2 separate regions of the Homo sapiens genome follow, and region 2 is linked to region 1. The links are contacts of gene promoters, found by promoter capture Hi-C in human tissues and cell types (Jung and others, 2019). All regions are on one chromosome and are shown on one strand. Each heading gives the region's core, a stretch centred on a gene start or on the middle of the fragment in contact. The rest is flanking DNA. Distances are from core to core; before and after follow the strand shown.

Region 1 (6,548 bases), core at 2,397-4,896:
ACTGAGGCAGAAAGATTACTTCAGCCTAGAATTTGAGGTTACAGTGATCTCACGCTCACTGATGATCATGCCACTGCACTCCAAACTTAAGTGACAACCCATGTTTTTAAAAAAAAAAAAAAGTCACCGCGAGTTCGATTCAAACAGTGTGAAGGAGGAAGCAACTAATTATCTCCCTCTCCTGATTTTTCATAATTTTATTAAATCATCACTGGGAAAACTAATGGTTTGCGTATCACACAATTACACTACAATCTGATAGGAGTGGTAAAACCAGCCAATGGAATCCAGGTAAAGTACAAAAACGCCACCTTTTATTGTCCTGTCTTATTTCTCGGGAAGGAGGGTTCTACTTTACACATTTCATGAGCCAGCAGTGGACTTGAGTTACAATGTGTAGGTTCCTTGTGGTTATAGCTGCAGAAGAAGCCATCAAATTCTTGAGGACTTGACATCTCTCGGAAAGAAGCAAACTAGTAGACTGATGAGCTGGATTGCTTAGATTGATAACATTTACAAATAGGAGTCCAGTTGACATGCTATTAATGTTGAAATAACCATGCCTGTACTGGTCAGTGAGTTCGGTCAGCTGGTTGGAATACCAGTTCCAGAGCTTTAGGCGACACATTTGAATTGAGTTATCATTGTAGAGAGTCATGGCTCCATCAGCTATGGTTATCTTCTTTGGTCTGAATGCCTATCAGTCCTTACCAGCTGTAGCAGCCACTGCTTGGTAAAACTTTGCCACGAAGTCTGGCTCACTGAACTCCAGCTGTCTGACAAATTCATTGCGCTCCTGCTCAGCCCAGCCTCGAAACCACTGATCCCAAAGATGTAGCTGGCACTCAAAGATAGAAGGTGGTCGGTCTGCCCCAGACACACTAAGCTGCTCCAGACTATCCAGCAGTGGTTGTAATTTTTCTGGCACTGCCTTAGCTACCAGGTCCTCTAGGAAACGTTCACGCTGGGGACCTGACCAATTGGCAAACCAGTGAAGAATACACTTCATCTCCTGGGAGGTGATGTAAGACATCAGAGGAGGGGAAGGGTTAGTATTGTGTGGTACTGAGGGTAAGAGAGATGGGAAGGATAGTGGCATTGAAGAGGATGACTCCAGTGGCATCCTGAAACATAAAAGCACTGTTATATGCTCTCCAGGTAGAGCAACGAAAATACAACTTTCAAGCAACAAGACATCTTACCACACTCAATTAGCATCTACAGAGAAAATTACTTTTTATGAATTCAAAGACCCAAAATAATAAGAGTCCTTTATTTAGATTATTATCCAACTACCTTAGAAAAATCACCAAAAATAACTTCATTTCCTATTTGCCTGCCTTTTTCAAACCCATTCTTCCCCACCCACTGTCTTCCTCCATCTTTCTTATAAAGAACCTAAAAATAACCAATATATTTCTTGTTCATTCTCTTCCTCTTACTTCTATGTGCCAGGTTGGGTAAAGAAAAAAACAATGATTAATGTTGGTCCATTACATCTTCTCCAAAATGAAAATGCACACATTTTAAAATCTAGTACGTGCAGCTGGTCAAGGCTGATGCTAATTGTTTTGCAGCTATCAACAGTGGGGGAAGAAAGAAAAAACATTATTTATGATGAAAGAGCCTTCAATGTGCATATAAGCCTCTGAAATATGCCAACAACTCCATAACATCCGTTACCTCCTTACATTTCCTGTAAAGCACCAGGAAAAGTTAAAAAGCAGAGTAAGGACCTTGCTCAAAATAAGGTAACGCATGAAAGAACCAGAAGCCCGGGTGTTTGAGACGTTCTTAAAAAAGAGTCCAGTTGGTTTGTTGGCTTAGAGATCTAACAAGTGTTATACTATTTTATGACAATCCATGTCTTTAAACAATTGTCCTTAATATTTAGTATGGGCCAGACGCGGTGGTTCTTGCACTTCCAAAGTAATCTCAGCACTTTGAGAGGCCGAGGCAAGAGGATCGCTTGAGCCCAGGTGTTCGAGACCAGCCTGGGCAACATGGCAAAACCTCATCCCTACAAAAAATAAAAAAATTAGTTGAGCGTAGAGGTGCCTACCTGTAGTCCTAGCTACGTAGGAGACTGAGGTAGGAGCATCACCTGAGCCCGGGAGGTTGAGGCTGCAGTGAGCCCTGATCGCGCCACTGCACTCCAGCCTGCGTCAGAGTGGAGGGACCCAGAGTGGAGTGACAAAAAAAAAATTTTTTTTTTTTTTTAGTATGGTATCTATTGGTGCCTTGCAATTTTTTTTTTTTTTTTTTTTTTTTTTGAGACGGAGTCTTGCTCTGTCACCCAGGCTGTAGTGCAATGGCGTGATCTCAACCACTGCTTCCTGGGTTCAAGCGATTCTCCTGCCTCAGCCTCCCGAGTAGCTGGGACTATAGGCGTACGCCACCACGCCCGGCTAATTTGTTTGTATTTTTAGTAGAGACGGGGTTTCACCATATTGGCCAGACTGGTCTCCAACTCCTGACCTCAAGTGATCCGCCCGCCTCGGCCTCCCAAAGTGCTGGGATTATAGGCGTAAGCCACCGCGCCCGGCACCTTGCCACTGATTTTGCATCATGAATGCAACGGAAAGATCAGCCAATTTGACTTTAATAGTTTTCAGTCTCTTAAATCTCTAACGTATCTCTTAAATCTCTAAACTATTTGTCTGTGACCTATTTTACTGTTTGTGTTTCTTCTGCATCAAGTTGGAGGATTGGTAGTGACAAAGAAAGAAGCCCCTAAACAATTAATATTAGTTCAAGTACCAAAAAAGTTCAGGGCGCTTGCATTTTCCAGTTCTTGCCCTACAGGAAGCAGTTCCTCCAAGGGAACTTACTCTCTTCTGCGGAGCAAGGAAGAACTTTCCCAGAATCTTGCCACATGGCTTCCAAGGCAAACTCAAACTCAAGTTCAGCGTCATAGATCAGTTCATAGTCTGGGTCCGAAGACACGGCGATGCTTCTTGCGCACCCCCACGGAGCTTGTTATTCCGATTCCGCACCAGCCCCCCGCCCCTCCCCAAAAAAAGCCTAAGATGGGAGTGGCTATGATTCAGAGGACAGAGGGCAGAAGCTGTTTGCGTTAAGGAGTGGGGGGCTTGCCCTATTAAGGTAATCCGCAAACACCGAGTCTGACCCGGCCCATAGAGGTACTTCTACCCCGCTTACCTCCCCTTTTCTCTCGAAGGGCACCCGAAGATTGTCACGAGTCCTTAGACTCCAACTACTGCGGCAGCTTCCAAATTTCCTGAAAACCCTAAGCTGGGCCAGCCCGGCAGCCCACGCACTTCCGGCCTCGGACCCGCCCCAAACACCCAAGCGCCCCAGCGCCTCATCTCTAGGTCCGGAAATAAACGAACATCTCCGATTATGGTTATACCAGGGTCGAGGGTTTCCGAATATATTCGATTCAAAGCTTCGGCAAGACGAAGAAAACCGAGCCTGAAAGCAGGGCGAGAAAAGGGGCGCTGCAGGGCGGATGGAAAGAATTGATTGGTAACGATGTGGAGACGGAAACATCCGAGGACATCCGGAGGAACCCGGGGAGTTCTGAGTGGTAATCGAGGGGTAGAGTATGGCAGTGGGCGGGGTCATCTCGGTACGTTCGAAGGGCGTTGGCGGAAATTACCGAAGATGCCCGAAGCCGTCGGGACGGACCCGAGTACCTCACGCAAGATGGCGGAGCTGGAGGAGGTGACTCTGGACGGGAAGCCTCTTCAGGCGCTGCGGGTGACCGACCTGAAGGCCGCACTGGAGCAGCGAGGCCTAGCCAAGAGCGGGCAGAAGAGTGCCCTGGTCAAGCGGCTCAAAGGGGTGAGGAGTCGGCGTTGCTGGGGTGTCGGAGGAGAGCGGACCCGGTAGAGACGAGCCTCTGCCGCGGCGCAGGCGCAGTATCCGGGCTCGGCGCGAGCTCGCTCAGGCCGCCAGCGCGAGCCTCTGGATCCGCGCGCACGGTGGTTGATGAGGTTCGCGCTGGAATGGAGATCGCGCCGGTTCCCGCCTTAACGGCAGCAGCGCGAGCCCAAATGGGAGGGTGTGCACTACTCTCCAGGAGTGTCTTAAGCTCCTTCCTCCTTCCCCCACCCCCTCCTTGTTTGTATCTGTGGTTTCGGCGCATGCGCTGCAGAAGGAGTTAAATCCCACTACAACCTACGGCGTTGCTGGCCTGAGGGGGGCGAGTTGGGCTGGGTCGGAGTTAGGGGTATAGTTGCGCGAAGGGGTGGATGGGGTTGGTATCGGTATCTGCACGAATAGGACTGGGGTAGGGTAAAATGTCTGCTCGATTAGATGAGGAGGTGAGATGAAGAGAGACCTTTATTTGAAGGGACTTGATGAGAGAGAGGTCTCTAATTTAGTGGCATCTAGTGGCAATTTGGGTGGTTAAGAGTTTGGTGAATATTGGTGAGAGAGGCGAGGCAGGTTGATATATATTGGGGATTTTGAATCGGTTTGAGTAGATTAAGGTGGGATTGTCATGAGGTAGGTGTAGCTCGATTCAAGTGTATAGGTTTGGTTTAAAGAAGGGAAGATGAGGATGTCTTGGTTTTAATTAGAGTTCAACAGGATACGTGGCAGGTAGTGCAGATTAGGTCTGGGTTGGCTCCAGGGTTGAGTTGGCAGACCGTTGCTTATACAGAAGCTGATAGTTTTGTGTGTGTGTGTTTGTGTGTGTGTGTTTGTGTGGATAGACTAGGTTAGACCACAGTTTACAGGGTCTGTGGTCATTTTCTTCTGTAGCTTCCTCTTTGAAAATTTTATAAATTTGATAAATCTAGGTGCCACAGTACTGGAAATTATACAAATTGACCCTGGTACTGGGTAACCCTTTGACCAAGTAATTCCGTCAGGCAAAAACCAGGAGCCCCATGGCTGGTTTGAGTATTTTAAGTAATTTTACATGCATGATCAGATTTAGAAGGGGCACTTGGCGAAAGTGCAGAAGATAATAGGGATTTTAGTACTGGTTCTATTACTGATATTATGACATAGCCAGGTCACTGATTCTGTGTGCCTGCATTTTATATCTGTACATTTAGTAACAGTAACCATGGCTACCTTTATGGGTCTTCTGAAGATGAATGAGAACAGTGTTAGTAAAGGGTTTTCAGGTCCCTGGAAAAGGAATACAGTTTAATTGTGTGTATTTAAGTCATTGCGTTTAATTTAGAGGTTGTGGTAGAGGTGGGGGTTTGTTTTTCTTTTTTTTCCTCATCATTTCTGACTTTTACCCTTCTCTATACCAGGCTCTAATGCTAGAAAATTTACAGAAACACTCAACACCCCATGCTGCATTCCAGCCAAATTCCCAGGTGAGAAAGAAGGTGTATTCAATGGAGTGGGCCCTTTGGATATCCAGACACATGGAAGGACGTGGTGTTGTATATTTGATGCTTAAGTCCTCATGACTGTTTTCCTAAGTTCTCTTAGTCAGAAATGTTCTCAAACCAGGACAGTTGAATTCTAATCAACCCAGTTGTATACAAGGGCCTGGAGTAAAGAACAGAATCAGAGGCACTGTTAGTTTATAATAATTGAAATGGCATGTGTAGAAAGGTGTGGCTTCCATTAATTACGTGTAGTACAGAGATCTGAAGTCATTTATCTGCCATGAATTTAGGAAAGGTAGTTGATGTCTTTGAGTATAGATATGAAGTAGATCACCAATATGGCAGTGTAGGGAAATAGTTGCTGATTAAGAACTCTTGTTGATGTAGATTTTCCAAGGGTTCAATCCTGTGTAAGTCACCCACCATTACTAGTGTTAACTACTAACTCAGTGCACTTACTCATAAACATTACTAATACCTCTTTACTTAGGATAAGAAACAACCTTTGGAGGCCTTGGTCTTCTCCATTTCCTTATCTGTAATATGAGAAACAGACTAAACCCATGGGTTTATAACTGTTCTCTTAGGGTTTTGTGGAGCTGCTTTGGGGAGCTTCCTAGGGGAAATACCTTTTTCCCAAGTAAGCAAGGCTCATACTCCTCTCTTAAACTAGATTAGATCTACTTTTTAACTATTGAGTTTCTGCATAAAATTTTTAAATTATTCCACAGTTAAAATCCAAAAATTATTAGGCTGCACAGTCTCTTAAAGTTTCTTTCAGCTTTTAAAAATCCCCTCATTATAATGTGTCATATACTTAAAGGAAAAATCCAAGTCTTTGTTAAAGCAATAGTGTGCAGCCTCAGTACTAGATGAAGTCTCAGGATACTGTGGAAAACAAGAGAGCCCTCCTCCTCCTTTGTTATCACCTCATTAAGCTGTAAGTATCATAATCTAGCCAGCATTCAGAGGTTCAATTAAGTACTTTAACAAGCATAAGAAACTGCATAAGTTAATCAGCTTAATTGTATTCCTTTTGCCCATTGCATGTTAGTCTTTGAAGCTTTGCTTTTATTAACACCGGGTTTGTGCAGCAAACATGCCTATTCTGTAATACACATGCAACCCACCCTTCAACAATGTCCATTGAGTGCCAAGAGACTCATTTCTACTTTAGGTGAAAATAAACCTTTACTATGTTTAGGAAACATGACTAATAACATAGAA
Region 2 (6,548 bases), core at 1,965-4,464, 960 kb before region 1:
GGTGGAGGGCGTGCCCGAGCCAGGCCAGGCTGCAGAAGAAGCCTTACCAGGCTCTTGTGGGAATGGTAGAGCTCTTGCAGGATCTCATCCACTATGGAGCTGGTTAGGTAGGTGACGACTGAGAGCTTCACTTCACTGTGGGCACAGGTGGGGCTACTCAGAACATTAGCACCTCAGTCCCCCGCATGGCCCCTGAGGCACTCCCTCTCCCAGAAGCCTGAGAGAACGGCCAGCTGGCCTGGTCTGTCTGCCCATGGAGCGCATGTGGCTGCTGAAGGAGGCAGCCTAGCCCTTGACACTCATTTCTCCACAAATACACGTCTAGTCCCACCCCAGAGCCCCCAGCCCAACTATGTGTGGGGAAAGAGGAATTCGAGGAGAAGGAGCAAGGGGGCCCTAGGTCAGGCCCCTGGAGCCCCAGTGGAACAGAGCTAGGTAATTGGGGTGCTGAGTAACTAAACCCTGCTAGTTGCTACTGTGAGGGTAGGAAAGACCCTTCCTTGGGCCTAGCTGTTTCATAGGTATGTGTACTAGTTTTCCTTTGGTTTGGTGAGTGGTGGCACCCAGACCCAGAATGAAAGAACTCTAGGGGCAATGAAAACTGGGAGGAAGACAGTGCTTCCATGCACCCAACTCAGGTACTTTTCTTTGTCCATGCCTCCGAGGAGGCCCTGCTATCCCATTCCTGGTGTATTTGTGTGGGTATGTGTGTGTACACCTGTGTGGGCACAAACTTGGCTCCTAAACCCCAGCTCAGCACTTAGATTTCTAGGGCAAAGACCAGCCAGACCCTAAATAGCAAGGTTGCACTTGGTTAAAGATTGATCCTTGTAATGGAGATTGTGCCATTCATTATTCATTGCTGATAGCTCTCCAGTCCTAAGTCCCTAAGTGATCTGGGCCAAATCCAGCTCAGCCCCAGCCCTGCCCTTTGCCTCTCACTCCAGCTTGTTCTGAATGTCCTGTCCTGCTTGCTCCAGCAGTGCCCCTCGGATGAAGTTCCGGGGCACAGTGACACGCTCCGCCACATTGCTCAGCATCTTGTTGTGTCCCTCGGCCACCCGCATGGCCACAGGGCATAACTCCTGTGTCAGGCTGACCATGGACTCCAGGATCACCTAGTATGGGGGAAAGGGAGGCCAGAGGCCCAAGGGGGACAGGATCAGGGCTGGCACCACAGCAGAAGAGACTTTATCTATTCCAGCCCCTCCTGCTGAGACTGAGGGACCTGCCTAAGTCACAAAACTGTTAGTGGCAGAGCCTTGGACACTAAGGCTTCCCCACTTTCTGGTCAGTGCTCCTTCCACCCTACCATACAGACAGGGGCAGTCAGTCCAAGGATCCAAATCCAGAGCAGGGAGGTCAGAGTTCAGGGACCAACATCAAAGCTAGCAGAAAAAAATCCAAGCCTGATATTGCAGCAATGCCTTGGTACAGTGGGAGCGTGGGTGGTCTCAACTCTGCATGTCCTCCTGGCCCTCCAGAAGTCTCCCAGCTCTGACTTTAGCTCTGGGCTTAGGGCCTCAGTCAACACTAGGTTCCCACCATGGATTCCTCCCTCCTCCAGGACTTGCCTGCAGCTCCTTGTCCACAGCTTTGGACACCTCACTTGCTACTGATTCCAGCCTCTGCCGCACAGGCCCATCATTGGCCAGCACGTGGCCCAGCTCATAGAGGCTGGGAAACAGCTGGAGAAGGAAGGGGTTATGATTAGCAGGCCAGAACCAGGACTTGCTAGGTCTCTGGGGTCCCTGGGCTAGGAAGGCAGATGCACAGGGCAGGGCTGTCATGGCTTAGCATGGTCGGCCTTCTTGGGTTCTCCAGACTTCAGGGGAAGGGTAGCCTGTGGAGGGCTCACCGCCCGGGAGTTCTTGGCATCTTTGATGAGGTCCCGAGCGTAGAGTAGCTCATCCTGCACAGGCTCCAGGGGGCATAGTCTCAGGGCCCGCACCTCCTCCTGCACTCGTCCACACAGCCGCTGCAGCATCTGGAGCACAGTGGCAGGGGTGTCAAGGGGACCCCTGCTTCCACATCTTCGCAGGTAGGACCCCTTAGACAGTGCTACTGGTGCTGGCACCGACAGTGGTGGAGGTGATGTCTCTGGCTGGCCTGGTCCCCATTGCTACAGCCTTCTTGAATGCCCAGCTGAGCTCCCAGAGTCCTGTGCACTCCTGCTGTTCGCCCACATATGTTTGAAGCCCATATCCTGCATGTCCTCTCTTTTTGCTTCCCCACATGCTCAGTCCAGTGATAGGCACCATGCAGTGCCTCTTCATGCTCCCCCACTCAATTTTCCATCACATCACACTGTGCCCTGCATGCCCCGGGTATGCCCCGTGTCCCAGAGGGAAACGTTTACTTGCTCGGCGCTGCTGGTCACCAGGCCCTGCTGCAACCTGAAGGCCTGCTCCTGGGGGCACGTCTGGGAGTGGTTGTTCCTCACTAAGCACCATTGGATCTGGAGATGATGGGGTTGGTGGGTCAGGGCCTGGGGATGGGGGCTGCCCCCTGCCCCTTGCTGTGCCACCCTGCTTAGGACAGCACCCTGCACCTTCTGCCAGACGTCCTCGGTGCGCTCAGGCGCGCTGCGATAGGCTTGGGAGATGTCGCTCACGGGGAAGGACATGAAGCGCAGCGTGTGGTTGCTGTGGGACACAGGGGCACAGCTGGGTGGGAACAGGTGAGGATGGGAGGCCCCTGCCTCCTCTGTTGGTGAGCAGCCCTCCAGCCCCCTTGCTCATCATTTCTGTCTTCCATGGCCCTTCCTAAAATTTCTGTGCAAATAGGTCAAAGGGGCTAGGGTGGGGCAAGAGTAGTTCAGGCCTGATCCAGGCACAGGGAGGCTGGGGACTTGGATCAGGGCAGGACCATGGTCTACTCACCTCTCCAGGGCCCTTGCGATGTCCAGGAAGCCCAGGGCAGATGTATTGTTCCGATCCCATAGGATAGTTCTGGGGGGAGGGTAAGCACCAGTTTGGCACCTCTCCTCCTGGGTCCCTACTAGGGGCCAGGGACACAAACCTCTTGGGGCAATAAGGCTGACTCAGAGATGGTTCTGGGGCTGGGGGTCTTCTGGAAGCTGGGGTCCAGAGCATCAAGGAAAGCAGGGAGATTATGTACATATGGGGAGGGGCTGGGGCTCCAGGTCAGGGGGTCCCGGTGTGGGCCCCACCTGAGGGAGGAGTTTATCTGCAGGGCCTTAGACAGCATCTTGGCCCCGATGTCCTCCATGCCATTGCCGCTCAGATCCACCTTGGCCAGGCAGGTGTTGCTGCCCAGGGCATTGATGAGGATGCTGGTGCGAAGCTTCAGCCGGGAGTCTGCCACCGACAGTGACTGCAGGGACTGTGTGGGCAAGGGGCGGTTGGACCCAGTCCCCACAGCCTCCTCCGACTGCAGGTCCCCTCCCAGGCCCAGGCACTCACACAGTCCTCTTCCTGGATCAGCTGCACCAGCTTGTGGAGGATCTCCTCCAGGGTCCTGCAGGGAGGCGGGGCTCAGAGTAGGAGGGGAAGGGCTGGGGTCATGCTATTGGAGGAGGAGAGAGGTGGCCAGAGGTAATACGGTGAGCCAAGAGGATGGGTGAATGATGGGATGAGGGTCTGTGGGCATGGAAAGGGGGCCTCACTTGGCCTTGACATTGAAGTTCTTGCCCAAAAACAGGTGCTTGAGGGACTTGTTCTTGCCAAGTGCAGGCACCAGTGTCAGGAGGTCCGAGTCGAACCCTGGTGAGCAGATGGGAGAGGCCTGGCCTGGAGGCCTGAGGCTGACTGGTGTCCCATCAGGGCTGCTTCTGCATGCTCCAGGCCCCTGTTCTCCCCTGGCCCCAGGGAAGGGAGGAACCACTACTCACCATTGTCTGACAGATCCAGGCTGCCTACACAGGTGACAGCTCCCAGCTGCTCCTGCAAGGCTTGGGCTCCCGCTGAACGGAGCTGCAGGGACAAGGTGAGGTAGGGAAGGCAGGGGTTGGGGTGGGGGTAGGGCACCTTTAATGCTTAGGATATAGTAGTCACACCAGAACTCAAAGTCATGCCAGGATCTGGGTGTAAAATCAGGGAGACTCTTTCCCCACACCAGATCCTTCCCTAGAGCTGGCTTCCCTCCCTTCGGCCAGGAAGGCTGCTATTCCTAAGACAGCTTGCTCCTGCCCTCTGGTGGAAAAGTCTGGTATCTCCCACCCCAAAGCTTTAAGGGCAGAGATACTAGAGACTGAGAATGAATGGCCTCTGGAAAAGAGGCCAGACTGAGAGGGGAAAGTGGTGGTGTGGCCAGGTCAGGGGGTCGCAGAGGGTCAGCACAGAGGCTAGATGGAGCCAGGGTTTGACTTAGGTCTGAGAAATGCACATGGATCGGAGGCGGGCAGAGGGGTTGGGGACTGAGGGCTCACCTCGCAGCTGCTGAGATCCAGGTGCAGGTCACTGAGGTGACTGTTGAGGGAGAGGCCCTGAAGCAGCGCCCTGTGGGAGGGAGGTCAGCAGGCCCTCCTTTACCTCTTCCCGCTCCCCGTGGTTCCCTTGGATGCGCCCCCAACCCTGCACCCACCCGACCTGAGGGCCTCCAGGGGCAGCTTTGTGGCCGACAGATTGACGTGGCTCAGTGTGTAGGCGCTGCTGAAGAACTGCTTGAAGGCCGGCGGGGCCTCTCGACCCTTCCTGTGGAGAGACCCCTGGGGTCAGCGAGGGAGGGGGTTGGCCATGTCTTGCCCTGTCCTCCCTTCCCCCTCCTCTCCCACCTGTGGGAGCAGCTGTTGCGAGCCAGGTTGAGGTAGGTGAGGTGGGAGCAGCAGCCGTGGAGCAGGGCACCGAGAAGCTGTGGGGGGAGATATGGTGGGTCTCAGGGGAGCTGGAAGGGGGTAGGGGGTGGCAGGAAAGGACTCCCCCTCCCTCCCCATCGAGGTTCCTGGCTCTTCATTCTCTGTGGTCAGCCTGTGTGAGCTCCACTGGAGATGCCCACTCAGATTCTTGAAGTCTCTGTTTTCTCCCCTGTGGAACATGGGTCTACTCCCTGCCTGGCTTCCAGGGGCATGAAGCTGCTCACAGGCAGTGGATGTGTAAAGCCAGGGCCACCACTGACTCCTAAGGTGCCTTGTTCAAGTTAGGAAAAGCATCCATTCCCCTGGTGGAGCCAGGGTGCACAGCTGGGGAAGGGAGCAAGGGCTGGCTTTTAAGCACAGCAAGCACAAGCTTGTGACCTGGATAAAGTGCCACACAGGTATGAACTATGGACATTGCTTTATACTTCAGCTGAACCTGAAGTCATCTAGACAGCTCTGCCCGCCTGTGTACTCAGGGATAGGGGGTGAGACCGAGGCCCACTGTGGTCTTCCCCAAATCACCTCAGACTGGCTTCCCATCACCAACTCCTCACCAAGTCGATGACGCAGTCAGTTCCTGACAGGTCCAGGTGCACCAGGGCGTTGGGTTGGGCCAGGAAACTGTAGAGGGCCTGGAGTAGGAAGGAAGAGGGGTTGCAGGGGAAGGGATGATGGAGTCTCGCCACCCCCAGAGGCCATGGGGCAGAAGGCCTCCCAGCTCCTGAAGCTTAAGCATGCTTTCTGCAGGGGGCTGAGGCTGTTCTGAGGACTCACATTGGCCTCATCCGTGGCGAGGAGCCCAGGATTCTTGCTCAGGTCCAGGTATCGAAGGGAGCTGGCAAATGCTGGGTTTGCCCCGAAGGTCTGGCCGAGTGCCTGGAGCCCTGAGCACAGCGGGCACTGGGCTGGGTTGGCCCCTAGCCCCACCTCTTCCCCTCAGCACATAACTCTTCCCCTCTCCCCAAACGTGGCTCCTTTTCACTCTTCCATCCCTGAGGTGGTGTGTGAATGTGTGGGTGTACCTCTGGAGCTCAACACCCCAGGCAGCACCAGGGTAGGGTCAGAGGTCAGGGGTCCTTGGTGCGAGTACCTCGAGGGGAAATGGCAGTCTTGGCCAGGCACAGTTTGGTGAGGCCAGAGGGGAAGCAGAGGAGCTGCTGGCTCAGACTGAGAAAACCTGGGGAGTGGAGAGAGAAACGGGCCCAGTGAGGGGCAGGGCAGTGGGTGCAGGTGGCACAGAGTCAGGTTGGGGGCTCGAGTAGGGTACAGGCCTTGGGTCAAGGATGGAGGTGTCAGGGCAGGGGCTGGAATCAGGCTGGAGAGCTGCTGTTCAGACCTGGTTGGGCTCTGGGCTAGGACAGGGGTCTGCATTGGGATGGGGACAGGATTCAGGGCTGGGGCTCACCCTTGTCCTCGATGGGGTTGTGGGACAGAGTGAGGGCATGCAGCACACAGCTCCCGTTCTCCCCAAACACCCCGGCCAGCTTCTGGACAAAGTCCCTTCAGGGAAGGGGAGGAAGGATTTGTCCTGAGCTGAGCCCCAGGTCCCAGCCTCTGGGCTTCCCCTCCTCCTCTACCTGACTGCCTGGCTGGGGCTGCATGGTCAGAGGCCCCCACAACAGGGGAACAGCTCAGGGCCTGCCAGGGAGCTTGTCACCACTCCGGAGTACCTGGGGGCATTCCACACCTTAGGAAGTTGTGCTGAGACAAAGGTCAGCTTTGGGTCCTCAAG

What was found. The method cuts DNA at HindIII sites, captures the fragments that hold promoters and counts their contacts. A contact is called where the count stands out against the background at its distance.
Region 2: a contact is called between a fragment that was not itself captured here and the fragment with the promoter of ACIN1 in region 1, in 1 of the 25 tissues and cell types used here (hippocampus).

What each region holds. Positions count from the first base shown.
Region 1 is chr14:23,092,234-23,098,781 of GRCh38, reverse strand. It overlaps ACIN1 (apoptotic chromatin condensation inducer 1), which reads left to right and starts at 3,646. Exons shown (of 19, transcript NM_001386863.1): 1 at 3,646-3,807; 2 at 5,238-5,303. The coding sequence starts at 3,670. C14orf119 (chromosome 14 open reading frame 119) reads right to left here and starts at 3,277. Exons shown (of 2, transcript NM_017924.4): 1 at 3,163-3,277; 2 at 1-1,124. The coding sequence starts at 1,123. The coding sequence ends at 701. RefSeq lists enhancers at 2,843-3,366, 3,246-3,455, 3,476-3,555, 3,367-3,890, 3,596-3,905. The HindIII fragment of the contact is 4,223 bases long and covers 675-4,897 here.
Region 2 is chr14:24,056,067-24,062,614 of GRCh38, reverse strand. It overlaps CARMIL3 (capping protein regulator and myosin 1 linker 3), which reads right to left. Exons shown (of 40, transcript NM_138360.4): 11 at 6,222-6,316; 12 at 5,907-5,993; 13 at 5,591-5,700; 14 at 5,371-5,448; 15 at 4,736-4,812; 16 at 4,551-4,655; 17 at 4,391-4,460; 18 at 3,854-3,935; 19 at 3,629-3,725; 20 at 3,426-3,480; 21 at 3,173-3,345; 22 at 2,883-2,951; 23 at 2,552-2,645; 24 at 2,360-2,458; 4 more. Among named protein-coding and RNA genes, the nearest start is that of CARMIL3, 7.3 kb to the right of the region's middle. The HindIII fragment of the contact is 4,302 bases long and covers 1,064-5,365 here.